Linked DNA regions of Homo sapiens: all the other regions are linked to region 1. Evidence: promoter capture Hi-C in 16 types of primary human blood cells and fetal thymus (Javierre and others, 2016). All regions are on one chromosome and are shown on one strand. Each heading gives the region's core, a stretch centred on a gene start or on the middle of the fragment in contact. The rest is flanking DNA. Distances are from core to core; before and after follow the strand shown.

Region 1 (6,752 bases), core at 3,152-5,651:
GAATGAGGGCTGGGTAATTTGTCTTTTGGTTCCCAGAAGGATGGAGACCAGCAGTAAGAAGTAGAAAATAATGATGATATTAGTCACCACCACCACCACCACCATCATCATCATTCCAACAGCAAGAGCTAACATTTACTGAGGGCTTACTCTATGTCAGGTCCTGTGCTACAGGGACCATTTCATTTAATAGTAGCCCCTTTTTACTAATGAGAAAACTGATGCTTTGAGAGTTTAAGTAACTTGTCTGGAGTCACACAGTTAGTGAATGACAGGAACCAGAGTTCAAACCCTGGTCTGTTAGGCTTCAGAGTCCAAACTTCTTTTAAACAACTTTTTAGGCGGGACACAAGGGCTCATGGCTGTAATCCCAGCACTTTGCAGGGCTGAGCCGAGGGTAGATTGCTTGAGCCCAGGAGTTCAAGACCAGCCTGGGTAACACGGCAAAACACCATCTCTGCTAAATAAATGAATAAATAAATAAATAAACAAAATTAAAAATAAAAAACTTTTAATTATGTTAAAAAATTCAAAAGTAGAGAGATCCATATAACCCCCAAGTATCGTACATCTCCCAGCTTCAACAACTATCAAGATTTTGCCAATCTGCTTTCATCAATTTTCCTTTTTTTTCTTTTGTGCAAGTCCTAGACCCCATAAAATCTTCACCACTGTACCTGAACCCCACTGGGGTTACTAACCACTGGCCAGTAAAGACCCCTCCTCCCACTCTAGCCCCTGGGTACCTGGTACGAGGTGACAGGCTTATGGAAGCTCTTGAGGGCATTGATGGCCTTGGCATAGCCCAGGGCCCTCCACTTGTCTCCCTGAACACTGTAGGCTTTGGCCAGAACTTCCAGCTTCTCTGTGATATGGAGGTTGTGATTGGTCGCCTTCTGGCTTGAGGGCTGTGCACAGACCCACTTATCCAGGACAGCAGGGGCTGGGCTAGGCTCACAATCTCCCTCAAGGGAGGTGGGGTAGTGGCCACTGATGAGGGCTTCCAGATCAGCTGCACTAACCTGGGTTTCTTCCCCATCACTGGCTTCATCATCAGAGATGGGCTTGGGATAGAGAAGAAAAGAAAACAATAAATTCTTGTTCTCCAAGAGAAGGGATCCTTAAAGGTGGGGGTCATCTTCTTTGTGCGGGGGGAGGGTCTTCTAGTCAGACCTAAGAATGAGGCGGGGCCTTCTGCATCAGACTTGGATCTCCTTGGGTGTGAGGCCACGTTCCCTTTGGCTCCACGCAGTGCCTAGCCCTAGGATCCCCAGTGGTATGTGTTAGATATGGCCTAGATAAATGCAGCAGTGATGAGTGTTGGGAAGAGCTAAATGGCTTCACAATAGAGCCCTCCTCTCTCAGGGGCCTGGGACTTTCTGAACAGCCACCAGGCCCACCCCATTTCTGTGATCTGCTTCCTAGGGGAAGGGAGTTCTGAGGGATGGGAGGCTCCTGACCTGGGCTTGGGTGTTTGGTGCCTCTTTTGCCTTTTGGGGAGGAGACACAGGCCTGGTGGGAGGAGGAGGAGGAGAAAGGGCTGTCTGAAGCAGGGCCTCATGGGTGCCAGGAGGAATAGAAGCATCCTGCTCTGCCTTGCTGGGCTGTGGATGGTCCAAGTACCTGTGGGGATGGTGATGGGAGGTTAAGACACCAAAGGTCTCACCCTGTATCTGTCCCCAGTCCTTCTGTACTCTGAAATACTTGGTTTCCCAGTGTGTCCAATTAAGAAAACGAGTTTTTTGAGGTTTTTGGAGTTTCTCTTGAGACAGGGTCTTGCTCTGTCACCCAGGCTGGAGTACAGTGGTACGATCAAGGCTCACTGCAGCCTTAACCTCCCTGGCTCAATCAATCCTCCCACCTAAACCTCTTATAGCTGGGACTACAGGCACACCCCACCATGCCTGGCTAATTTTTTAATTAATGATAGTTATTTTTAATAATTCAAGAAAAGAGCTCAAGATGCTACTAGAAAACATTTGAAAAAAAGACTGGGATCAGCCCACCTACTGGGGATGAAGATGCTGAATCCAGCTACATCCACCAGCCTCCTCTCCTGAAGGCACAAGCTCAGCCAGGCTGACTTCACCAGCTGAGCACCCGGGGGCAGCTGGGGTAGTCTGAGAAGGCGGAGGGCTCGCTCATAGTCCATGCCTTCATCCACCACAATGTGAGTGACACCTGGGCCCTGGGCAGGGCATAGCTGGCCGCCATGCTGAACAATCTGCTTCTCAAAGAGTTCTGCCCGGGCTCGTCCAATGCCAGTGCGCACAACATGGGCCCGAAGGGAGCTCAGCCACTCTGTGGAAGGAACATCCAGATGACTACTGTTGTAACTTTTTAATTTTTATCTGCCACCCCCTGGCCACGACATAACTTCTAACATGATCTGAATGACGTGTTCACAGTCCCCTACCCTGAAAATAAGCATTTCCCTTCCATCCAGACAGCTTTCCTTCTACATATAGCAAATTTTCTCACAGGCCAGCACTTGAATGTAAGGGACAAGGATTTTCATACGTCCTGTTCCTTGGTGCAATCTAGAAGTGTCTGGCACATTGTAAGTAACCTGTAAATATTTGTTTAATGAATGCCTCCTCCCTTCTTACTTTGTTTTTTGTTTGTTTGTTTTGTTTTCTTTTGTTTTGTTTTTGTTTGGAGACAGTCTCACTCTGTCGCCCAGGCTGGAGTACAGTGGCATCGTCTTGGCTCACTGCAACCTCCATCTCCCGAGTTCAAGCGATTCTCATGCCTCAGCCTCCCGAGTAGCTGGGATTACCGGCGTGTGCCACCATGCCTGGCTAATTTTTTGTATTTTTAGTAGAGACAGGGTTTCGCCATGTTGCCCAAGCTGGTCTCGAACTCCTGAGCACAGGTGATCTGCCTGCCTCGGCCTCCCAAAGTGCTGAGATTACAGGCAAGAGCCACCGCGCCCAGCCTCTCTCCATACTTTGAATCCTTTATCATTTATTCTTTCAACAAAGCGCGTTTCTTGCCCTTACAGTCTGACAGACCCGACAACCCTGCCTCCAAAGCCTCTGCCATTTATTTGCCAATTTGGCTGCAAAACAACTAACAACAAGCCTGGGTAATGGAGGGGGGTTTCTGTCCCAGTCCTCAGGGCAAAAATTATACTGGTCATTCCCTGAGGGCCCAGGGAGTCTTTTCTGATGGATAGAGGTCTTCGGGTAGAAAAGAAGGTAACACAGCAAATAGCCTGTCCAAGACCCAGGACCAAGCTTAGCACAAGGTAGATACAAACAGACCTGCAGGCCCTGGACAGGCAGAGTCAGCTCCAATATCTGATTCTGGACATAAACAACGTAGGGCTGAAGCACATGAAGGCTGTGGGTTCAAGCACACGAGGGTTCTGAGACTGGGTCAGCTCACCTTCTGCTTCTTCTCCCTCTTCCCTCCTAGGAATCTTTGCAAGTACTTTTGATGATGCATCAGCATGAATTTTCTGCCGCTTGGGAAATGCCTTCAAGATACCCCTGGGATCCATTGAAGTATGGCTGGATCCCGGCCTATTGGAGCGTTGGTCAGGGCTGCTGCACGTGGAAATCCAGAATTGAGGCCCTCCAACCCCTTTGCCTATGGAGGTAGGGTCTTTCCTGACCAGGCTTTGGGGGTAGCAGCCCAGTTTGGGGAAGCGGGTCGGGGGAGGGGGTCTCTTCAAACCCGGTTAAACTTCAGTGGTTTAGCCTAGCTTCACACTCCCCAGCCTTTCGAAGTTGGAGTATTACGGGAAATGAGGGGAAGGCTGGTGCCATCGGGGGTACTTTTGAGGAGTAGGAAACGACACCATTCCTCAGAGGGGTTGCGCTAAAGATTCAGCACAGCCCTGCTGCGGCCCACTTCGAAGGGCTTTACCAAATGGGATGCTGGGCTAGGAAATGGAGCTTTAGGGGATGGAGCGGAGCCTGGGGAGGACCTGCACATAAACCCCACATACTATTTCTCTACCTCCAACACAGACTCGCAGAGGAAGGAGGAGGACTTTCGGGGGTGAGTGGGAACGCCCTGCACCTGTCCTGGTCTCAGCCTCTCGACATGGGGGTGCTCAGCGCCGCAGCTGCGGGGAGATGGGGCACGGCCGCAGCAGGTGTGGGGAGCCCTCCGGGAATGGAGGAGTCTCGCAGCTGCGGGTGAAGTCCCGGGCAGGTGCGGTGTACTCGCCGTGTACGCAGCTGGCGCAGGCCAGGGAATCCCAGCTCGGGGCTAGAAGAAAGCTGGAGTGCCCGACCCCGGCCCCAAGAGTCTCTCCAACCCCCAGAGTCGGTCCCCGGGTGGGGTCGACTACTGGCCAAGCTAGTCACCCGGGGGTGGGCAGGAATAGACCACTTACCAGCAGAGCCAATGAGAGCGGACGAAGGGGGGAAGGAGGGCAAATGGCCAGAATAGCTTCCGAGTCAGCCGGAAGTGACCCTCTGGAACGGTTGCCATGGCAGCGGCTGGGCGTGCTGCTTAGCAGGGGAAAGATGGCGGTGACGGGCTGGTTGGAGAGTCTGCGGACAGCCCAGAAGACTGCGCTGCTGCAGGACGGTAACTCGAGGGTCCCCACGGGCTCCTTCGTTTTTTTCCCTCAGGGTCCGGCCCTCCGGGAAGGGCCTCAGGGCCTGGGTCGGCAGAGCTGGAAGGGTCTCGGCGGTCAGCCGGGCCAGGTCCTGCATTTGCAGATGAGGAGACTGAGGTTCACAGAGATGACATGACTGGAACACATGTCTCCGGACACCCCTTAGATTCCTCTACACCATCTCGCTCCGCTCTGATTTCTGTTGCTAATATAGTAATTTCTTTTACATTCATTATCTCATTTGCTCCTCACCACTGTCCTGAGAGGCTAATTTTCACCCCGTTTTACAGAAGAGGAAACTGAAATCCAAGAATGTTTTAGACTTTAGAGAGGAGAGAGGCCTGGGCTCTAGTTCCGACTGTGCCATTAATTCACCACGGGCGCTTCAGTCGGCTCCTTTACTTGTTTGGGCCTCACTTTCCTCATCTATAAAATGAAGTGGATGGACTACCATTGTTATCTCTGAGGTCCTTTCCAGCTGTAATATTTTTGTTAAGTGAACTTCTAAATATTTTCTGTGTCTTTAGGGGAGCTAGAGCAAGAACCAAGGGCTGTGCCTGGAAGAAGTGGGCACAGGGGCATGGATACCTAACTTTTCCCCACCCTAGGATTGGCCGATGCCGGCCCCTTTGTGCACTTGGGTCCTTTCTGGACCCACTGGGTAGCCAGGATGAATTGCGTCTGAAGTTCCTGAGGCTTTCAAGATAACAACTGGTGACTCATGTTCACAGGCAGGGGCCAATCAGGGAAGCCTGGAGTTTGTGGAAATTAAAATCATTTACTCGTTCGTGCAACATTTAGGAAGACTTTTACTATGTGCCAAGCTCTAAACTAGAACAGAAAGAAAAAGATATGTTGTCCCAGGACTCAGAGTGGTTGGGAAAAACATGTACTTAAATAATAAGAAGCGTTAAATAGAGGTTGTAGTCTTGTATAAAATGGTAGGAAAGAGTGAAGGTGTAAGTGACATCTCTTTGGAGGAAGACCCAACAGAAGTGATGATGTTTCTGGGTCCTAAAGAATTAATAAGGTCAGGCACAGTGGCTCACGCCCGTAATTCCAGCACTCTGGGAGGCCAAAGTGGGCGGATCATTTGAGCTCAGGAGTTCGAGACCAGCTTGGGCAACATGGCCAAACCTCATCTCTACAAAAAATACGGAAATTATGGCCGGATGTGGTGGTTCACGCCTGTAATCCCAGCATGTTGGGAGGCCGAGTGGGCGGATCCCTTGAGGCCAGGAGTTCGAGACCAGCCTAGCCAACATGATGAAACCACCCCATCGCTACTAAAAATACAAAAAAATTAGCCAGGTGTGGTGGTGCGCACCCGTAATTCCAGCTACTCTGGAGGCTGAGGCAGGAGAATCGCTTGAACCCGGGAGATGGAGGTTGCAGTGAACTGAGATCACACCACTGCATTCCAGCCTGGGTGACAGAGTGAGTGAGACTGTGTCTCAGACAAAAAAATAAATAAGCCGTGCATCATGGCACATGCCTGTAGTCCCAGCTACTTGTGGTGGCTGAGGCCAGAGGATCGCTTGAGCCAGCGAGGTAGACGCAGCAGTGAGCCGAGATCATGCCAGTGCACTCCAGCTTGGGCGACAGAGCGAGACCCTGTCTCAAAAAAACTGGAAAAAAAAAAAAAAAAAAGAATTAATAGGCGTTTGCTGAGTGAAGAAGAGGGGATAGCTATTCAAAGAACAACTCACATATAAGGACCCTATGTGAAGGTGTGAAGGTACGTGCCTGATTACTAGAGGAATAACAAAATGTTTAGTAATGTTAAAGCAGTCACTCAGTCAGAACAAACCACCTATAACTATGTCAGGTACTATTCTAGGTGCCAGGATGGAAGCGAGAATAAAAAGGTCCCTTTTCTCAAGGAGCAATGAGGGGAAGTTGTGGAAAATGAAGAGAGATGACAGATAAGTTGGGACATATTGTGATAGATCTCTTATGCCTTGCTAAAGATTTAGGACATTTTCTCATAGGACAGTGGTTTTTGTTTTTATTGTGGTAATAAATACATAACAGAATTTAGCATTTTAATCATTTTTAAGTGTACAGTTCTGTGGCATTAAGTACATTCACATTGTTGTGCAACTATCACCACCATCTTCAGAACTTTTTAATCTTTCTCAACGGAAATTCTTTTTTTTTTTTTTTTTTTAGAGAC
Region 2 (6,752 bases), core at 3,034-5,533, 440 kb before region 1:
AACCGAGCGGGTGAGCTTGGCCTTGCCTCCTTCCCTCACCTTCTACACGATACGGGAGGTGGGGGTAGGGGAACATCCCTGGAAGGCTCTTTTGTATACTATATAAGGTGTATTCATTTATATACAAATAGCCCCTGCCAGTGTCTTAAACTTTTGTGTGTGCAAAAATCATCCAAGGATCTTGTTAAAATGTGGATTCTCATTCATTAGATCTTGATGGGGCCTGATGAGATGAATCTTGATGAGATTGCACATTTAGAATAATCTTTTGGTAATGTTGACACTGCTTCAGGCATCAAGGTCTTAAACTACTTCCCCACATCTAAGATCTAATCCTAGGGTTTTAAAGTTGCCTGCCAAACATGACTTGTAATCTTGTTTTATTTGCTTAAGAGCATTTTTCCATTTTATTTAAAGAAATGAAAAATAGGGACACAAATAATATCCCCTTCTGATAGGCTGTTTTGGCTTTTCTTTTTCCCAGAGCATTGATAAGACATTTTAGAATGCACTGTCCACATGCCACAGGCCTCACCAATCCCAGTGTTTTATGTCCTGCTATTTTCCGTGTTCCTGGCACTGCTCCTCTGATGCCAGATCCCCTCTCCTTCTGCACCTGCCCTCTTCCAAAAACCCTCTTTCAGCCCCAAGCAGCTGTTGAAGTGTCTTTGAAGATCAGCCTAAATGTTAAGCCTGGCTTCTCTGCTGTCCAGCCTTGAGTAAGTTCATTAAGTTTTAGGATCTTGCAATTTCCTTGCCCATATTACAGGACCAACCTGTAATTAACCTGGATTAAGGGGATTAAGGAGATAACTCAGGTAAAAGCACTTGGCTCTTCACAGATGCTCCAGGAATGGCATAGAGCAGCCCAAGGTGTTGTGGCCTGGGTTTTCCACACTCAGGACTTCCTGGGGCCCTCAGGGTGAGTCCTACAAATCTCAGGGGCTCTACCCTCCACACCTCATTCCCAGACCCTCAATTTCTGGAGGGAAGTTGAGGGGCAGCTTTCCCTTACCTTTGGCCTAGGGAATCTCAGGATCACATGCAATCACCTTGTTCCCAGGTGGCCACACCTGATTGCACAGACTGGGGAGGCCTGTCCAACAGGTTCATAGGAAAATGCATAGGGGTTTCATGGTCCCTCACCATTCACTTGCTGTCAGAGAAAATCGGCCCCCGCACATTGGCACACCTGTTCGCAAGCCCAGCCATGAAAGCTCACAGACACACAGTTGTATTCTTGTACCCATTTTGGGAATCAGAGGCTTCACATCTGCAGGCTTTGACTTCTCTCCCTTTCCCATCTCAGGCCAGAAATTGGGTGCAGCGCAGCGGTGGTATGGTTATTGTGATTATTGCCCTGGGGCGAATTCTGCAGAGGAGTGGGCAAAAGAATATGGAGGAACCAATTTATTAACCCCATAGAAGCCCCAAGGTTTCCAGTGCCTGTGGGACTCCATTCAGCCTGGACTCTGCAAGACTGGCTTCTCTCCCTCCATGTAAAGTCGAGCAGGGGGATGGGATTGTCTGGGTGGGAGATGGGCTGAAGAAACAGATCTTTGGAAGGCCTGGAGTCTTTGCTTGCACTAAATGAGCAGAACCTTCAGTTCCAGGGAGGTGCCCCTAGCCATCCCTGAGCCTTCCGCCCTGGGGTGGGTTGTACTGTCCCCTCCACACAGCAGCCTGATGTCCTGGCTTGTCTTGGGGTGTCACCTCCAGAAGAAGCCAAGCACAAACGTTCACAGAGATCCACTGAGCTCCTGAGCTGCCAAGGGACACCTGCATGGAGGTGCCAGGCCATGCGCTGGAGACAGCCCGTAAGTGAGAAAAACTCGCTTCCCTCCAGCCTCACTGTGCCCAGGCCGCTCTGTGCCCTGCGGCAAGCTGGTGGGGGGCGGGGGGAGGGCTTGTTAGTAAATGACCCAGAAGCGCCCCACCCCACACCCCACCACAAGGACTTGTCCGGGCCGGGCCGGGCTAGATGCCGAGATGTAATTCACCAGATTTGTGAAAAGACGAGAAATCTGCTCTCATTTTGAAGCGCAGCCCCGCCGGCATCCAGGAGGCCGAATATAAACCTCTTCCGGAGGGCAGGGACATCTTGCACCGTCGCCCTCCAAATCTGGCCCTCTAGGGTGTGGAAGGGCGCGGCAGGGGTGCAGGGAAAAACACACAGCCCGTAGCCATCTGTTTGGCTCTGACGAGTCCCCAGACTCGAGCCTCCAGTCAGCTCGGACTCCAGACCAGGGCTCCGCGAGGGGTGGTGCGACTCTAACCCCACGGTCGCCACAGCAGCTGGAGAATTCGGCCAAACCTGACTCTTTCTCCAGGGGCGAGGGCTCCGCCAGACCGCGTGGACAAGGAACCGGCCCCGCCGCGCTTTCCTGGACTGCGGAGGCGGCCTGAGTGGTGGTGTCCCCGTCCCTGGCAGAGAGGGGCTGTCTCTTGATTCCTGAGCTTCAGGGCCACATGTCTCAGGCGGGTTGAGCCTCGATGATGTCTGCCGTGGGGTTCGCTTGTGGACGATCCCTTCCTGGGACCCCAGACCCGGGCCACGGCCTCCAGGACGCCTGGGTCTTGCACCCCTTGCTTTTCCCGACGGGCTCCCGGAGTCTCATTTCTAGAATGAGGTGGGAGACCTCGTGACTACGCGGAGGCCGCCCCAGGGCTCCGAGGGCACCGCACAGGGCACCAGGCCCTTCCCAGCTCAACCCGGGCCCGTCGCGGTAGTGAATTGGCGCCTGACGATTGCGCGGCAGAGGCTGGCGAGCAGCGCTGGGCTGAAGCCGACCCGGCACCGCGCGGCGCCCGGATCCGGAGCTGCCAGCAGCAGAAGGGCAGGCGCTAGGAAAAGCGTGAAAAGGGCTGGGTCCTTTGGGTCAGGATTTGCCCTGCGACCGGAGGATGGGGCGCACGATTCCAAGGCGCGGACTTCGAAGGCGAGAACCTGGAAGGGGAAACACACACTCCCCCTGCCATCCCCCTGGAGTTCTCTTGCCCAGCTCGCAGCCTCCCTGAAGGATCGGGGCAAGGGCAAGGCCACGAGAGCTCAGGTGCTGTTAATTTCCGTTGAGGAGAAGCACCCTGGGGTCCCTGTCACTTGGAAATTCCCTGTGGCAGTGCTGTAAGCTTCATCACAGTCGGCCCTGCAACTCCCTCTGCACATCTTTGGAATCTCCAGGAGTTATGGGGCGGGGCGAGGAGCTAACCCAGCCCTGGCTCCTCCTCCCCAGGGAGCCGAAACTTCTATACTTCTCTGACTTTATGGTCCTTGGAGGCAGGGTAGGGGTTCAGGGGACTGATTCCTTTGGATTTCTGGGCGACTGGTCTGGCAAGTCAATAACCACCCCAGTTGTCCTGACAAACGGGTCTGCTTTGTGATCAGAGTCCATAAAATGGGCCTGTAGGAAACAGTGTCCCCTCCAACCAATACGGAGCCAGAAGCCCTCTCCTCTGTATAAGGTTTAGAGAGTGCTTCTCCACCCTGGACTGCAGGGAATACTCTCCTCCCTTGAGTCTTTGATTTTCTGCAGTCCCTCAGTGTGTGGAGTCTGAGTCCAGCTAACCCGAGAAGAAAAATGCACTGATTCCAGGGATATTCGGTAGTTTACAGGATCAATAGGAAGGCTGAGGAATTAAGGAACATCAGTTTCAGGAAACACAGGAATGCTTCGTTAAGGCACTGCTGCTAGCACCACATGCTGCTAGACTCCGGCATGAACATCACTGAGAGTAATTTCCCAACTTTTCCTCCATCTTCACTTCACTCCCTCAAGATTCAAAACTCATGGAGTATCATTTAACGACACTAAGAGTAGGACATGTGTCCAGGCACTAGTTGTCAGAGATGGGAGGGAAGAGCATAGTCCCTTAGACTTCCATATTAAAAGCTAAAACTGTTCCACCAATATTTACCCTGTTTGAGGACAGTCTCCCTATCAGGAAGTGTTCAGATGCTAGGTTAAAAAAGGGTGGGGGGACCCACTCGAGGGGACCCACCCCTTTGGCTGCCCAATATTCACATATGCCTTTCTTCCTAAATTTACAGGCTTTTCCTCCACAAAATGCTCCCACCTAACATGTTACTGTCACTCATGACAGAAAATATATTCAACTTTCCTGACAATCCAAAGCCTCATAGCTCTAAGTTCAATACCTTTGTTCTCTTCCTTCTCTAGTTCTGTTGGAATCTGGTCTCAATATTGTGCAACTTGTGGATTAGACTAAATTGTAAAGCTAATAATCATCACACATAATAATATAGTAGTGGCCAGGCATGGTGGCTCATGCTTGTAATCCCAGCACTTTGGGAGGCTGAGGCAGGCGGATCATTTGAGGACAGGAGTTCGAGACCAGCCTGGTGAACATGGTGAAATCCTGTCTCTACTTAAAATAAAAAAAAAAAATTAACCGAATGTGGTGGCAGTTGCCTGTAATCCCAGCTACTCGGGAGGCTGAGGCAGGAGAATTGCTTGAACCCAGGAGGCGGAGGTTGCAGTGAGCTGAGATCATGCCATTGCAATCCAGCCTGGGCAACAAGAGTGAAACTCCATCTCAAAAAAAAAATAGTAATAATAATAATAATAATAATACAATTACAAGGGAATAAGAATGGAAGAAAATGCATGAAGTTAAAATATAGACTGTCTAATATGACAACAGGTCAGGACGTAAAAACCATTGTCTTTTTTTTTGCATATTTCGTATTCATGACATTCCTCCTCCCTTTTCCATTCTGTTTCTTTTGCCTTCAGGCAGCACCTGGGCTGGTTTGGGTTCTTTATCCTGGAGAGAGCCAAGCCTTTGTTCCTGAGGGATCTGAGCCCTTGATGGTCCTGCCTAGAAAGGGCTGTCGTGGTCTTCCATTAACTTTTACCCCTGGACATAACAGCACTACAAGGGACCCCAAGGGAGCCCTGTGATTCCATGAATACTCCTTTTTGCCCCATTGTATAGGAAAACATTCTACTTGAACTTGCTACCGCTCTAGCCAATTCCATAGTCTCCTTTAACCTTGCTCATCCATTGACAGGAGCAACCAGAAGTGACCAGGTAAGAATTTATGCTCCCATTTCAGTGAAAACATTGTTTCTCTTGGTGGGAACTTTCTTCTCTTGGGGACTCTAACTCTAATATAGTAGAAACAAGAGTCACAGAAAGTGAGGGTGTCACTGGGGACTTGTAGAAGGTATTGCCCTCTCTTTTTGGGGTCATACAATCAGGCTATGGGGGAAATAGCAGCAAATATTAAGTACCAGCTCATAGCATATGTTTCATCCTGAAGTACTGCACCACACTACCGTAAAGGACAAACCAGGCTGTTCTAATAACACAGAATACAGTGGCTCAAACAAGATATAAATTATTTTTTCTCTTGCATCTAGGAAAGACAGATAGCTCTGCTCTGTGAAGGCATCGGGAGGCCCAGGCTAGTGAGGAAGCTTTGCCATTCTCCGCAGCCACCTTCCAAACTTGTGTCAATCCTTGACAGAGGAAGGAAAGGGGGCAGCAACTCCAAGGCAAGCTCTTTAAGAAGATGACTGCAAAGTTGTGCATATTTCACTTACATTCCTTTGAGAAGAGCTAGCTGCAAGGGAGGCTGGGAAATGTAGGCTCTAGGTGAATCTAGTGGATATTAGCCCATTGTTAAAACTGCAAAATGTATTCTTGTCAACAGCAATGTTGTGTGGAAAACTAGACAATTATAAGGCCTTGAATGAATGTATTAGCTGAAGCTTGACGCTCAGAAAAGGCATATACAAGCCTACCACCAGATACCTCATTGGTGCCGCTGGCGTTATGGTATAGAGGCACCAGTGAGGTATCTTGTGGTAAGTTTCTACACAGTAGGGGCCTTGAAGCTGATCCCAGTTGCTGGCAAATTGGTTAATTTTGCAGTAAGCTTAGACTTGGGAGATGTTGAGTTTATGCACAGCTTTCTTTCTTCTTGATCTTGGGCCCATTTATTTAAGAGCACATTGAGCAGGACTTGCAGTGCCCGGGAAGGAGACTGACTGAGATCCAGAGTAGGTTATCTTGTCCACTTGATTTTGAAAAACCATTTATTTATTTATTTTTTGAGATGAGGTCTCACTCTTCACCTAGGCTGGAGTGCAGTGGCAGGATCATGGCTCACTGCAGCCTCAACCTCCTGGGCTTAAGCAATCCTCCCACCTCAGCCTCCCAAGTAGCTGGGACTACAGTTGCACACCACCACACCCGCCTTTTTTTTCTGGTAGAGATAAAGTTTGCCATGTTGCCCCAACTCCTGGGCTCAAGTGATCTGCCCACCTTGGCCTCCCAAAGTGCTAGGATTACAAGCCTGAGCCACTGTGCCTGGCTGAAAAACCTTTTAAATCAGGTATTTTTGGTGATCATTTTCATAAAACACAAATATTTTTACAATCTATGTCCATCCCAAAAGATTATTCTTTATACTTTTTCCCACCATGTCCTTTACCCAGACCTGTGGCCTGCAGTGAACAGTCTACTAAAGCACTTTTTAGGGGTTCTGTTATTGCCTTGACCAAAGTATTTTTCAAGTTTTTTGAGAAGGAGACATCTTCTGGGATCCTTTCCAGAGACATTGTGGCTGGGTGAAGTGGCCCATGATAAATCCTCTCCAGTGTTCCTGTCTTCAGAAATTTTCAGCCAGGCATGGTGGCTCATGCCTGTAATCCCAGCACTTTGGGAAGTCGAGGTAGGTGGATCACAAGGTCAGGAGTTCAAGACCAGCCTGGCCAACATGGTGA
Region 3 (6,752 bases), core at 1,260-3,759, 390 kb before region 1:
GCAGAATAATTCAGGTCTGCAAAGCCAGGCCTGGGAGTAAGAGCTGATCAGGACCACAGAAGAGGAGCCTCCAGAGCCATTAACTGCCACCTTCCTCACCTGGCTTCCCTGCTAGTTTCTCTGCCACAGCCCCAGCCCCTGACAGGGGTGTCACACTACAGACCAAGCACAGCGGCCAGGACCCTCCCGACCAGCTCCGTTCTTTGAGAAAGTCCCCCCACCACAACGTGGGCACGGAGGGGCTGCTGATCACCGTATTCTTGCACCCCTGGCTCAGGGAAGATCAGCCCAGGGAGGGGTCCCTGACTCAGACCGGCTGATCAGCTCCTTAACGGGGATTTTACATACAGGCCATAGGAGGCGGAGGGTCTTTCTTGACCCTAAAGTCACTAGTTGAGGTGACAGAATCCTCGAGTTGTCAGTCTTCCCATGTCCCACACGAAGGTCCAACATGAGGAAATGAGGCCGGCACAGCGAAAGGAGCCGAGCCCCAGTGACATGGTTGGTGTTCTGGACCCAGTTGTTCCAGAAGCCCTCCCTGCTCTGTTCGTATCACTTATGGGAGCTAAGCCATTTCTGCCTTTCCCCTTGGGCTACTTTGAGTTAAACTTCTGTCTCTTCTTTAAAGGCCGGGGAGAGGGCACTGATTAATGTGCTGTGTGAGCCTCCTTCTCCTCCAGTCACGGTCGGTGTGAGCAGGAGTGGATACTTGACCCAAAGGGGAACCAAGACATAGGGCAGAATCAACCTCTCTCTCTCGCCCTCTTCCCCTCTTTATTATTATTATTATTATTATTTAGATGGATTCTTGCTCTGTCACTCAGGCTGGAGTGCAGTGGCATGATCTCAGCTCACTGCAACCTCCACCTCCTGGGTTCAAGCGATTTTCTTCCCTCAGCCTCCCGAGTAGCTGGGATTACAGGTGCCTGCCACCACGCCTGGCTAGTTTTTGTATTTTTAGTAGAGATGGGGTTTCACCGTGTTGGACAGGCTGGTCTCGAACTCCTGACCTCAGGTGATCTGCCCATCTCGGCCTCCCAAAGTGCTAGGATTACAGGCATGAGCCACCACGCCCGGCCTCTCCCTCATATTTCAACTGAGAGGGAGGGATTACAGTCTGATGGCTGGAACTGAAGGTTGTATAGATTCAGGACTAGGACAACAATTTGGTTGGGGACTCACTAGTGGAAAAAAAGAAGAAAGCTAGCCTGCTGAGATAGATAGGAGAGACGAGAACCATATGAGCAAATTGAGAGAGAGAGAGAGACAGAATTTTCCTAATTCCTGAGCCCCAGTGTGCTTCCTGCCCTTCTTTCTGTGACATTCTCTGAACCCGTATAATATACCCTGTCTTAGGCTTTTCTGGAGGTATAACTGATAGAAACCCACCCAGGCTAACTTACGCAAAAAGGGTAGTCTATTTTTTTTTTTTGAGATTGAGTTTAGCTCTTGTCACCCAGAGTGGGGTGCAGTGGCACAATCTCAGCTCACTGCAACCTCCGCTTCCCAGGTTCAAGAGATTCTCCTGCCTCAGCCTCCCGAGTAGCTGGGATTACAGGCACCTGCTGCCACATCTGGCTAATTTTTATATTTTTAGTAGAGACGGGGTTTCACCATGTTGTCCAGGCTGGTCTTGAACTCCTGACCTTAGGTGATCCACCCGCCTCAGCCTCTCAAAGTGCTGGGATTACAGGCATGAGCCACCACACCCGGCTTTAAAAGGGTAGTCCTTATAAGGATGGCAGGTGTCTCCTGGAACCCTGGGACAGGTGGCACACCTGGGTCTCAGGATGACCTGAAAGCCAGGCAGACCTTCTCTAAATGGGCCTATGGTCTCAAGTATCTTATTTGAGACCAATTTCCTTCAATTCTCCATGTGCATGAGGCTAAACATGGCTGTCAATAGCCCCAGATTATGCAAGTTCAAGTGGCCACAGAGATGTCCGGCCACAGAGATGTCTAGCCCTTGTCCGAATGCCCAGGAGAAAGACTCTGGCAGGCCCAGTCTGGGTCAGTACCTACCTGCTCCAACCAGCCAGGTCTGGTGGAGTGGGGGTCCCATTGTCTGCTACAGCCCACCTCCAGGGAAGGGTCAAAGAGGAGTCCTCAAGGAAGACATATAAATGGCAAACAGGCGTATGAAAAGGTATTCAGTCACTGATCATCAGAGAAATGCAAATCAAAACTATAACGTGATATCATCTCACCCCAGTGAAAATGGCTTTTATCCAAAAGACAGGCAATAACAAATGCTGACGAGGATGTGGAGAAAAGGGAACCCTTGTATGCTGTTGGTTGGAATGTAAAGTAATACAACCACTATGGAGAACAGTTTGGAAGTTCCTCAAAAAACTAAAAATAGAGCTACCATATGACACAGCAATCCCACTGCTGGGTATATACCCAAAAGAAAGAAAATCAGCTTATCAAAGAGATATCTTCACTGCCATGTTTATTGCAGTACTATTCACAATAGCCAGGATTTGGAAACAACCTAAGTGTCCATCAACAGACAAATAGATAAAGAAAATGTGGTACTTATACACAGCGGAGTACTATTCAGCCATGAAAAAGAATGAGATCCTGTTGGCTGGGCGCAGTGGCTCATGCCTGTAATCCTAGCATTTTGGGAGGCTGAGGCGGGCAGATCACTTGAGGTCAGGAGTTTGAGACCAGCCTCGTCAATACAGTGAAACCCTGTCTCTACTGAAAATACAAAAATTAGCCAGACATGGTCGCATGCACTTGTAATCCCAGCTACTTGGGAGGCTGAGGCAGGAGTATCACTTGAACCTGGGAGGTGGAGGTTGCAGTGAGCTGAGATCATGACACTGCAATTCAGCCTGAATGACAGAGCAACACTCCATCTCAAAAAAAAAAAAAAAAAGATCCTGTCATTTGCAACAACATGGATGGAACTGGTGATCATTATGTTAGGTGAAATAAGCCAGGCACAGAAAGACAAACTTCTGGCCAGACGTGGTGGCTCACACCTGTATTCCTAGAACTTCAGGAGGCCGAGGCGGGCAGATCACTTGAGGACAGAAGTTCAAAACCAGCCTGGCCAACATGGTGAAACCCCGTCTCTATTAAAAATACAAAAAATTAACCGGGCGTGGTGGTGCATGCCTATAGTCCCAGCTACTTGGGAGGCTGAGGCAGGAAAATCACTTGAACCTGAGAGGCAGAGGTTACAGTGAGCCGAGATTGTGCCACTGCACTCCAGCCTGGGCAACAGAGCGAGACTCCATCTCACAAAAAAAAAAAAAAAGACAAACTTCTCATCTTCTCACTTATTTGTGGGAGCTAAAAATTAAAACAATTGAACTCATGGAGACAGACAGTGGAGCAATAGTCACCAGAGGCTGGGAAGAGTAGTGGTTGAGGGAGGCAGGAAATGATTAATGGGTACAAAAACATATTAGTTATAATAGAAAGAATGACTAAGACCTAGTATTTGATAGCACAACAGAGTGACTACAGTCAACAATAATTTATTATACACTTAAAAAACTAAAAGAATATAAGTGGATTATTTATAAGACAAAGAAAAGATAAATGCTTGAGGTGATGGATACCCCATTTACCCTAATGTAATTATTACCCATTGTATGCCTGTGTCAAAATACCTCATGTACCCTGTAAATATATACACCCACTAGGTACCCACAAAAATTGAAAATAAAAATCTTTTTCTAAAAAGAGGAATCCTCTGCAGCTGTTATATCAAGCTACTTTGGGTAGGATCCCATTCCCTGCCACTGAACAGAGCTGACTGAAGCAATTGCCGGTAGCTTTGGGGTACCTGTTGCCCCTCTCTCTGTTGGAATTGTGTGCCTCAAGAGTATCTCCAGCTGGATAGAAGGGCCAATTCTTCTCAGAGGCCGAGAATATTCTTCCACGCTGTATCCCCTGCAAACAACTAGAATTCACGGTGATGCCAACCGACTGTCCCTCTCTTCACCCACCTCCTGCCACCATTGCTGAGAGAGAATTGGCCAGTGTCACAGTATCTGACCCACCATGCATTCTGTGGAGGGTGGCAAAGAATCCTACGGAAAGTTCCAAGGGCTGACTCCTATCTGACAGATGTATGACGTTGATCGCAACTTATCCTTTCAGGGAAGACGAATATCAATATTTCACCAGGCCTGGACAATCCTGGAACCCTGCACGCTTGACACTGAAGGCAGAATTCTGGAAGTTGAACATAGTGCTACAGATTTCACTGGGGCTGGAAGGTCGTGCTGCAGAGGTGGGCGGGTCAGTGAGAGTCTTAGGCACCTCTTCACCTTCTGCACTTAGGACTCAAAAGACATGGAGTCCACCCAGAGGCCAGAGTTTTCTTTCTTGAGCATCACGTCTGCTTGGCAGAGCCCCTGTGGAATCTCTCTAAGTTCTCATTCCTCCTCATTTGGCAACAGGCATTCCTAGATCTGGGGTGGGGACAGGGGCTGCCTCACAGAGCACAGGCAGCTTGAAGGCTAAAAGTGGGAAAGACGGGATGTTTCCCATTCAATGTTGCTATGCTAAAATGAAAGGATGTCTGGCTTGTTAAAGCAGAGGCACATATATATACTACCTGTATTGAACAGGTGTTTGGGTGTTTGTCCCTTTCAAATCTCATGTTTAAATGTAATCCCCAGGCCGGGCATGGTGGCTCATGCCTGTAATCCCAGCACTTTGGGAGGCCGAGGCGGGCAGATCACTTGAGCTCAGGAGTTCAAGACCAGCCTGGCCAACATGGTGAAATCCCATCTACTAAAAATGTAAAAATTAGCCAGGCATGGTGGCTTTCATGCGCGCCCATGTGAAGAGACCACCAAACAGGCTTTGTGTGAGCAATAAAACTTTTAATCACCTGGGTGCAGGCGGGCTGAGTCTGAAAAGGGAGTCAGCGAAGGGAGACAGGGGTGGGGCCGTTTTATAAGATTTGGGTAGGTAAAGGAAAATTACAGTCAAAGGGGGTTTGCTCTCTGGCGGGCAGGAGTGGGGGTCGCAAAATGCTCAGTAGGGGAGTTTTTGAGCCAGGATGAGCCAGGAAAAGGACTTTCACAAGGTAATGTCATCACCTAAGGCAAGGACCGGCCATTTTCACTTATTTTTGTGGTGGAATGTCATCAGTTAAGGCAGGGCAGGGTATTTTCACTTCTTTTGTGATTCTTCAGTTACTTCAGGCCATCTGGGCGTATACATGCAAGTCACGGGGGATGCCACGGCTTGGCTTGGGCTCAGAGGCCTAACAGTGGCACACGCCTGTAGTCTCAGCTACTTGGGAGGTTGAGGCAGGAGAATTGCTTGAGCCCGGGAGGCAGAGGTTGCAGTGAGCCAAGATTGTGCCACTGCACTTTAGCCTGCGCAACAGAGCTAGACTCCATCTCAAAAAGTAAATGAATAAAAGTAAGTAAGTAAATGTAATCCCCAGTGTTGGAGGTGGGGCCTGGTGAGAGGTGTTTGGGTCATGGGGGCGGATCCTTCATGAATAGCTTGGTGCTGTCCTCACAATAATGAGTGAGTTCTCACTCTGAGTTCACGTGAGATCTGGTTGTTGAAAAGGGTATGGTGGCCAGGCACAGTGGCTCACATTTTTAATCCCAGCACTTTGGGAGGCCAAGGCAGGAGGATGACTTGAGCCTAGGAGTTTGAGACCAGCCTGGGCAACATGGCAAGACTCCGTCTCTGTAAAAAATGAAAAAATTACTGGTCATGGTGGTGTTAGCCTGTGGTCCCAGCTACTCAGGAGGCTGATGGGGGAGGATCACTTGAGTCTGGAAGGTGGAGACTGCAGTGAGGTATGACTGTGCCACTGTACTCCAGCCTGGGGACAGCCCTGTCTCAGAAAAAAAAAGGGGTGTGTGTGGCACCCACTCCGTCCCCCACTGACTTTCTCACCATGTGATAGGCCAGCCTCCTATTCTCCTTCTGCCGTGATTAGAAGCTTCCTGAGGCCTCACCAGAAGCTGAGCAGATATTGGTGCCATGCTTCTTGCACAGCCTGCAGAACCATGAACAATTAAATGTCTTTTCTTCATAAGTTACCCAGCCTCAGATATTTCTTTATATCAATACAAGAACAGACTAACACAAAGGGATAATTCAGAATTTAAAATGAATACAAAAAAAATACAAACAGTAAGCCTTCTTCATACCTGAGTAGTGTCTCCTCACACATTCAGCACAGCCCTGTTCCCTTCCCCAGCACTTTTTTTTTTTTTTTTTTGAGACAGAATGTCACTTTGTTGCCCAGGCTGGAGTGCAGTGGCACCATCACAGCTCACTGCAGCCTTGACTTCCTGGGCTCTAATCATCCTCCCACCTCAGCCTCCCAGGTAGCTGGGACTACAGGTGTGTGTGTGCCATCATGCCAAGCTAATTTTTTATTTTTTGTAGAGAAGAGGTCTCACCATGTTGCCCAGTCTGGTCTCCAGCTCTTGGGCTCAAGTCATCCTCCCACCTCTGCCTCACAAACTGCTGGGATTGCAGGTGTGAGCTGCCACACCTGGTTCCCCATCGCTCTAATCTAACACTAATGTTCTCCTTCAACTCGAGTAAAATACAATTTCCTGAATCATCCTGAGTGACCTCCAGTTGTCCTCACTGCTCATTACATGCTAATTATAATGCATTAGCATCCTAAAAGACACTCCCACCAGCACCATGACAGTTTACAAATGCCATGGCAATGTCTGGAAGTTACCCTATATGGTCTAAAAAGGAGAGGAACCCTCAGGTCCAGGAATTGCCCATCCCTT
Region 4 (6,752 bases), core at 2,257-4,756, 350 kb before region 1:
AGCTGGGCCAGCATCTTCTCACCTGGAGCTGAAAGCAGCTGATTCCCAGAGTCTGCTCCACAGAGGGAATACCTGTCTTCAGAGCATAATCTATATGCTACCATGATCCTCAATTCCTGTTTGCTGCTTAAACAGCCAGGGTCCAGGTTTATTCTTTCTCAGTGGATAGGGAAGGGATCATTCTGCCAAAAATCTGCTTTCCCTCAGTTTAGGGAATATTCCAGACAAAGAAGAGGGAAACAGCATTTCATGAATTGCCACAATAAGGGGACCCTGCAGACCCAAACAAAACAGGTTAAACCTTAACACAGGAGAAGAATTCGCTTAAACCCCCAAAGACTCCATTGGATTCACTCTGGATTGTTTTGGTACCCCCATTCATTTCCAGATTATTTGTATAAGCACCAGCATTGACTCTCAGGCCAGAGTTCCTTTAGAGAAAAGGGTCTGACACTGCTTGAAACAAGTTAACTTGGCCAGCAGTGCGGATCATTTTACTGTTGTTGTTGTTGTCCCATGAAGACCTGCTACTCTGACACTCTGTGTGGAATTCAGAGTGTTTCTTCTCCTATGGAAGTGGACTATGATAAACGGCCTCCTGCCACCCAGGCTAAGTCAGGACTGCCCACTTGGTTTTTACATTTTGCCCTGGGCCACTGTCTGCAGTAACAGCAACAATAACCATGACAATAAATACCATAAGCCCTTACCTTGTGCCTGGCTCCAGGCTAAGAGTTTTATTCATTTCATTTATTACTCACAATCTTTCTAGGTAGCTATGCTCTTACCCCGATTTTACATAACAGGAAAATGAGGCCCAGAGAAGTTAAGTAACCCATCCAAAGTCACACAGCCTGTTTTGGAGTGATCAGGATTGGAACACTGTCCTTTTGTTTTGTTTTGTTTCTTATTCAAGTCTGTCCCCTTAATTCCTGAACCAGGGGGTTCTTAACCAGAGGTCCCCCAAGGGCTCTTTGAATGGGCTTCAGGGGCTCTGTAAATCTCAGAAATTTATATGTGTACCCAGGTGGGCACATTTTTCTGGGAGCAATATTATATAACACCCAGGATTCTCAAAGCGGGTGGGGATCCAGAAAAGGTAAAGGCTGGAATCAGGCCACTGTAGGGAAGGGAGGCAAGCCACTGGGGAAGGGGGATGGAAGCGGCCTCCTCCCAGGCCTGGGGAGCAGGGAGGCAGCTGCTTCAAAATTCAGGCTGGGCTCCAAGCCTGCTCCTGGACCTGCCCTGCTTTTTCTGGCCACACCCAGCTCTTAGGACCTCAGCTGGCAGGAAGACGTGGGGCACCATCTGAGGGCAGGACACTCCTTTGGTCCCCTCCCTGATTCTCCCCTTCCCTACTTCTTTTGTGAGCTGAATTCCTTCAGAGCACTGTGACAAGGTGACCATACCACATGCACCAGCCTCCTCCAGGCACTGTAATCCTGCTTGGAAGGAGCGGGGAGTGCTTGCCCTTTGGAAGTACTGGGGGACATAGACAGACCACTGAGTGACAGAGACAGGAAGGGAGGAGAAGAGACAAGTTCCCAGAGATGCTCAAGTCCTGGGTGCCCACTCTCTGCAGCCTCTAGAACAGCCTTCTCTTTTGGTTCCAAGCTTTTGCTCCCCTCATCCAAGGGTTGGGATGATTTGTGTCCCTTCCTTTCCTGGCACCTCCTGCTCTGTCTCTAGTGCTCAACTCATTTCCTGGGGGAAACCTTCTCTGCCCTGTTCAGCTCCTCTGCGCTCCTTAGCACATTCCCCTGGATGTCACTGTCATATTGCCAAGAATGTGTTGCTTTGTCTGTCTGTCCTGCCTCTCTCTCTCCATCTGTTGTGAACTTGGGAAGGAAGGACCTGAATCACCTCTCCATGCCCCTATGCCAGCCCAGCATACACCAAGGGGTCCAAGCATTTGTTGAGTAAATAAACTAAATAAATAAACAAGGGACAAAAATGGAGCCAGACAGGGAACTTAGCCTGTGCCTCAGAGAGAGGACCAGGGGTAGGTGTATTGGTTTTGCCAGCTGCCTGCAGATGCGTGCGGTGCTCCTACTGCTCACACCAATATACTCAGAGGGGCCCAGAAGCCTCATTCTCTAATGCTTTTTGGCTATGGAGTGAGTTTCCTGGGTTGTGGACCCAGCTGTGGTGGTGTGGTCTGACTTAGTAATGAACTTCCTTCATTTGCTTTTTTTGTTTGTTTTTGAGATGAGGTCTCACTATGTCACCCAGGATGGAGTGCAGTAGCACAATCTGGGCTCACTGCAGCCTCGACCTGCTAGGCTCAAGTGATCCTCCCACCTCAGCCTCCCAAGTAGCTGGGACCAAAGGAGCATGCCACCAAGCCCAGCTAATTTTTGTATTTTTTGTAGGGATGGAGTTTCATGATGTTGCCCAGGCTGGATTTTTTTTTAAATAGGATTAAGGCCGGGCGCAGTGGCTGGGCCTGTAATCCCAGCACTTTGGGAGGTCGAAGAGGGCAGATCACTTGAGGTCAGCAGTTTGAGACCAGCCTGGTGAACATGGTGAAACCCTGTTTCTACTAAAAATACAAAAATTAGCCGGGTGTTATGGTATGCTCCTGTAGTCCCAGCTTCTCGGAGGTTGAGGCAGGAGAACTGCTTGAACCTGGGAGTTGGAGGTTGCAGTGAGCCGAGATCGCACCACTGCACTTTAGCCTGGGTGACAGAGCAAGACGCTGTCAAAAAAAAAAAAAAAAAAAAAAAAAGAAAGAAAGAAAGAAAAGAAAAGGAAAGGAAAGAAAGAAAATAGGATTGACCCCCCCATCATTCGTTGGGCCCAGAAGCAGAGAGGAAGAATGGACAGAAGATGGGAGGTGATGGGCAGGCAGGAGTGGCAGGAAACAGACACCCACACGCCACTCCAGTAGCCCAGGGGTCTGTGAAGAGGATAAAGGAACCTAAGTGAGCATGTGTGTGTGTGTTGGGGGGGGGGGCGCGGTGTGGGGGGAGAGTCTGGTTCTGTTCCTGATGGAGGTGGCATTTGAGTTGAACTTTGTAAAACCAGGAGCATGTAAATAGGTGCAGGAGCAGGGACCATCCTGGAGGCAAAGGGAACAGCCGAGCACAAGCCCGAAGATGCCACCCTAAGAGAGGTTCCAGAGTTCCCTATAGCTCCTCCCTCTGTTGTCCTGGCGGTGAGCTACTGGGTAAGGGTGAAACCCTTAGTCTCTTGTTTATCGGCAGCAGGTCTGCAGCCTAGAGCCAGGGGCTGCTGGACTCCTGGGATGGCTATTTACTTATTTATGGGGTGGGGTGAGGGGTGGGGATGGGATGAGAGAGGCTGCTTTCCTGGGCCTACAATTGGAGTTCCCTTCTCCTTGCCATCCCCAGAAACTCCAAGAGCTGACCCTCTGTCTTACTAACTCAAACGGCCCAGAAACATCAAAGTCTGACCAAAAACCGTTAATGGTAGTCAGCTCCCTCCCTTTCACAGAGGTCTCACTACTGTCGGGGGGCGCCGGGCGCAGGCCGGGCATGGGGCCTGAGCTTAGGCCAGGTGGAAAGGTGGAAGGACCTAGTGGGGACAGACGAAGAGACCGAGGAGCCGCCCGCCCGGCTAAATGGACACAGGAAAGGCCTGAGTCAGGCTTCTCATAATAAATAAACTGCACGTGAATAATTCAGCAGTCGCGCGGGGGCCGGTTGCATCAGCGCCGCCGCCGCCGCGCGGCGCCCAATTCCCCGCGGAGGGGAGTAGCCAATTAAGGCACTTGAAAAGGGAGTCGGGTGGAAGATCCCCCGCCCACCAGTATCCTGGATTTACCCAGGTCGAGTTCAGAGAGCCTCCCCGGTCCCAACCCCCTCGGGCCCCATGGGTCAGGGGGCCGCCTGCTGGGAAGTGCTACCTCAGCTAAGCCGCTCAGGTGTCCCGAGACTCCGGGCAAGGGAAGACAGGCGGCGAGACGGAGCCAGAATAAGGGATGCGGACGTCTGACCTGTGGAAAACCCAGCATCTGCAGTGCCCAGCCGCACAGGGAACGTGGGCGGCGTGGTTCCAAGCACAGTGAAGACGCCAGGCTCGGATCTGTGCTCAGAGCCGGGATCCCTCCGGGCTGCTTCGTCCTGGCCAGGACTTTCCTTGCCCTGAAGTGAGGCGCCAGGGAAGCTGCAGGGCCCTCCGCCCTCTCTGAACTCCCACGTACTTGGGCCTCTCCCAGCCTTTCTTGGACCTGTGGAAGCAATTCCTGCAGGACCAGACTCCCCTGTCTCCCCGCGGCCCCCTAGGTACACTCCGTAACTTCCGAAACCTTATTTCGTTTGAGCGAAACCCGGCCCCTTTGGCTCTTCCCACTTCCCACAAGTCCCTGGGTTCCCGATCCTGAGGGATTGCATTCATCCCATCTCACACCCACCAACGCTCAATCCCTCCAGTTCCTCCCCAGCCCCTTCACTTCCATTAATTAGGTCGACTCCCTTCCTTCGCCGCTCCCTCCTGTCCCCACTCAGCCTCCCTACACCTATGCGGCGAGCCTCGGGCCAAGACCTCCGCCCTGGCTCCGCCAGTCCTGCGGGGGCCGGCATGCACCAGACCTCAAAAGGGATCTTCACGGGAATTCCGCATAGCCAGATCCCAAGCCTCCAGGGAGGCCACCAGCCCTCCCCCATCTTCTTCTTCCTCCTCCGTCTCCTTTCCTCTTCCCTCCGCCTCTACGTATTTCTTTCTATTCGTTTCTTTTCGTTTGGTGAGGTGCCACCCGCCACAGCCCTGTCCCCTAGGGAGAGGCCTGGACTAACTTTGCCGTCCTCGTGGCCTTAGCCCGGACTGTGAGTCTCGAGCGGCTTCCGAGAGGCAGCTCGGGTGTCTTCGCAGAGACAGATGAGGTGGGCTGGCGATTCCCTAGCCTCAGATGGCTCTGCCACCAGCCAGCTCTGTGATCCTGGGTAAGTCTTTCAACCTCTCTGAGTCTTGACGTTGGTAAAAGGCAGGAGATTTAGAGAAGGTGTTGGGAGACTAAATCTTTTCATTCGTTTGAGAAAGGGAGTCGCCTGTGTTGGGACCTAAGGAGGAAGTGAGGTTCTTGAGAATTCTAGATCTGAAATGGCCGTTTGTTTTAACGAGTATTTTGGGAGCAGCTGATAACTTTTTATTTTTATTTTTATTTTTTACAGCCGATGGGGTGCCAGGCATTAGAAACCTTCCCTCCAATCCTCACCATGTCTCCATTTTGCCAAAGAAGAAACTGAGGTTAAGGTCGCGATGCTCTGGCCAGCATCACAGGTGGGATTCGAACGCAGATGGGGTTTGGAGCGGCTCTTGTGTTTAAGCCACACAGTCTGACGTTAGACGGGTGAATCCAGCCCTCGCAGGGCCTGGAGTGACCTAAGCCGAGAGGAGCTGGGCTGAATCTCCAGGCGTTCCTTTCTTTCTGCCCTAGGAAAGCTTTGAAATTCTTATTTTCAGGTAAACGATTTTGGCAGTGCCCGGAGAAAGATAGAAGTAAGACCTAAAGAGGAACTTTCCGCATGTTATGGGAGAGCCCCTGGGGCGAGGAGGCGAGGGCAGCCTTCCCCAGGCCAAGGGAGCAGCCATCGCTCTTGGATCTGTTTTTCCTCAAGCGTCTGTCCTGTGGGGCCTAGTCCCCAAGCGGCAGTCCTGGACCTAACGGGAGAAGGGGCTGGGGGAAGAGGGCGCACCCCCAGCCCGGGACCCACAGCAGCCCTAGCCAGTCCCCCACTCTCTCCCTCTGTAGGGGCCTCTCTCTGAGATCGGGTCCTCCTCCTGCAGGGCAGCAGAGTGGAAGCCAGGGCCTGGGACCCTCTGGCTGGGCAAGGAGGGACTGGAGTCCGGCTCCCGGTGACCCCGTCCCCAGTGCCAGCGGTGGGGTCGCCTGTGGCGGCCCGGACAGGCCACGGGTCCCTCTCCCCAAGTCCCATTACGTTGTATTTATGTTTCATTTTATAGTTTTTTTTTCCTCCTCCCTTATTATTGTCTCACTCTGGGGGAGGCAAAGGATATAATATATTCATCTTTATTATACCAAATCTGTGTGAAGCATTTAATAAAACGCTGTTTCCACACAGCCAGGGATATTAGTGTGAGCTATCCTTAAGTTAATGCTCCTGGACTGAGGGCGCCGCTGCCACAGCGCCTGCTGCCGGCGGGTCGCGGGAAGCGTAGGCCCTGGCCGCCGCGCTCCCCGCGCGGGTCCAACGCCCTGGGTGCCCTTCTCGCCTGCGCCTTGAAGCCCCCACGCCCATCCTAGCGCGTCTCTCTGTGACCTCTCGGCCGCCAGCCTGGGAGGAGGGGTTTGGAAGAGCCGAATTCAAGCACCCTTCCTCTCCCCTGCCACACCCTGCATTTCGAATCCGCTGTGGGCCTTGGCTTGCATCTATGAAAATGGGAAGAATTCCATCACTGCCTCCCTCTCAGGGATCTTGAGAGGCCGAAGATGCCTTGAAGGTGGACAGGATTTTTTAAACAGGAAAGAAAAAATCGAGAATTTGTAAGGTCAGGATCAATGAGGGCCAGAGAGAAATAGAGAGGCTGCAGGAGTGGTTTCAGGCAACACAGAGCGAGCTGGACCCCAGGCGAGCAGACAGGGTGCAACTCCAGTTTGGGCAGAACCCAGGAGGTTTCGGCATGCCTGGGCCTCACCCCAGCCCACGAAGACAGCTGAACCTAGTCAGGATCTCGGCCTGTCACAGTTGGCCCTCTCATAATCCTCCCTCTAGGTAGGAAAATAGTCTTTTTAAGTCCAGTTTTACAGCTAGCAAACTGAGGCTCACAAA

What was found. The method cuts DNA at HindIII sites, captures the fragments that hold promoters and counts their contacts. A CHiCAGO score of 5 or more calls a contact.
Region 2: a fragment that was not itself captured here is called in contact with the fragment with the promoter of POLL in region 1 in 1 of 17 cell types (endothelial precursors); the score reaches 7.3 in endothelial precursors.
Region 3: a fragment that was not itself captured here is called in contact with the fragment with the promoter of POLL in region 1 in 2 of 17 cell types (endothelial precursors and neutrophils); the score reaches 5.7 in endothelial precursors.
Region 4: a contact is called between a fragment that was not itself captured here and the fragment with the promoter of POLL in region 1, in 2 of 17 cell types (erythroblasts and endothelial precursors). The highest score is 5.8, in erythroblasts.

Annotation. Positions count from the first base shown.
Region 1 is chr10:101,583,856-101,590,607 of GRCh38, forward strand. It overlaps POLL (DNA polymerase lambda), which reads right to left and starts at 4,402. Exons shown (of 9, transcript NM_001174084.2): 1 at 3,967-4,402; 2 at 3,391-3,551; 3 at 2,007-2,301; 4 at 1,461-1,623; 5 at 747-1,064. The coding sequence starts at 3,505. DPCD (deleted in primary ciliary dyskinesia homolog (mouse)) reads left to right here and starts at 4,466. Exons shown (of 6, transcript NM_015448.3): 1 at 4,466-4,545. The coding sequence starts at 4,482. RefSeq lists enhancers at 4,042-4,321, 4,422-4,751. The HindIII fragment of the contact is 7,368 bases long and covers 3,238-6,752 here.
Region 2 is chr10:101,143,995-101,150,746 of GRCh38, forward strand. No RefSeq gene overlaps it. Among named protein-coding and RNA genes, the nearest start is that of TLX1, 16 kb to the left of the region's middle. The HindIII fragment of the contact is 2,312 bases long and covers 3,128-5,439 here.
Region 3 is chr10:101,196,207-101,202,958 of GRCh38, forward strand. No RefSeq gene overlaps it. Among named protein-coding and RNA genes, the nearest start is that of LINC01514, 23 kb to the left of the region's middle. The HindIII fragment of the contact is 6,853 bases long and covers 1-5,936 here.
Region 4 is chr10:101,232,807-101,239,558 of GRCh38, forward strand. It overlaps LBX1-AS1 (LBX1 antisense RNA 1), which reads left to right. Exons shown (of 3, transcript NR_029380.1): 3 at 5,133-6,053. Among named protein-coding and RNA genes, the nearest start is that of LBX1-AS1, 6.6 kb to the left of the region's middle. RefSeq lists an enhancer at 3,232-4,154. The HindIII fragment of the contact is 3,789 bases long and covers 1,613-5,401 here.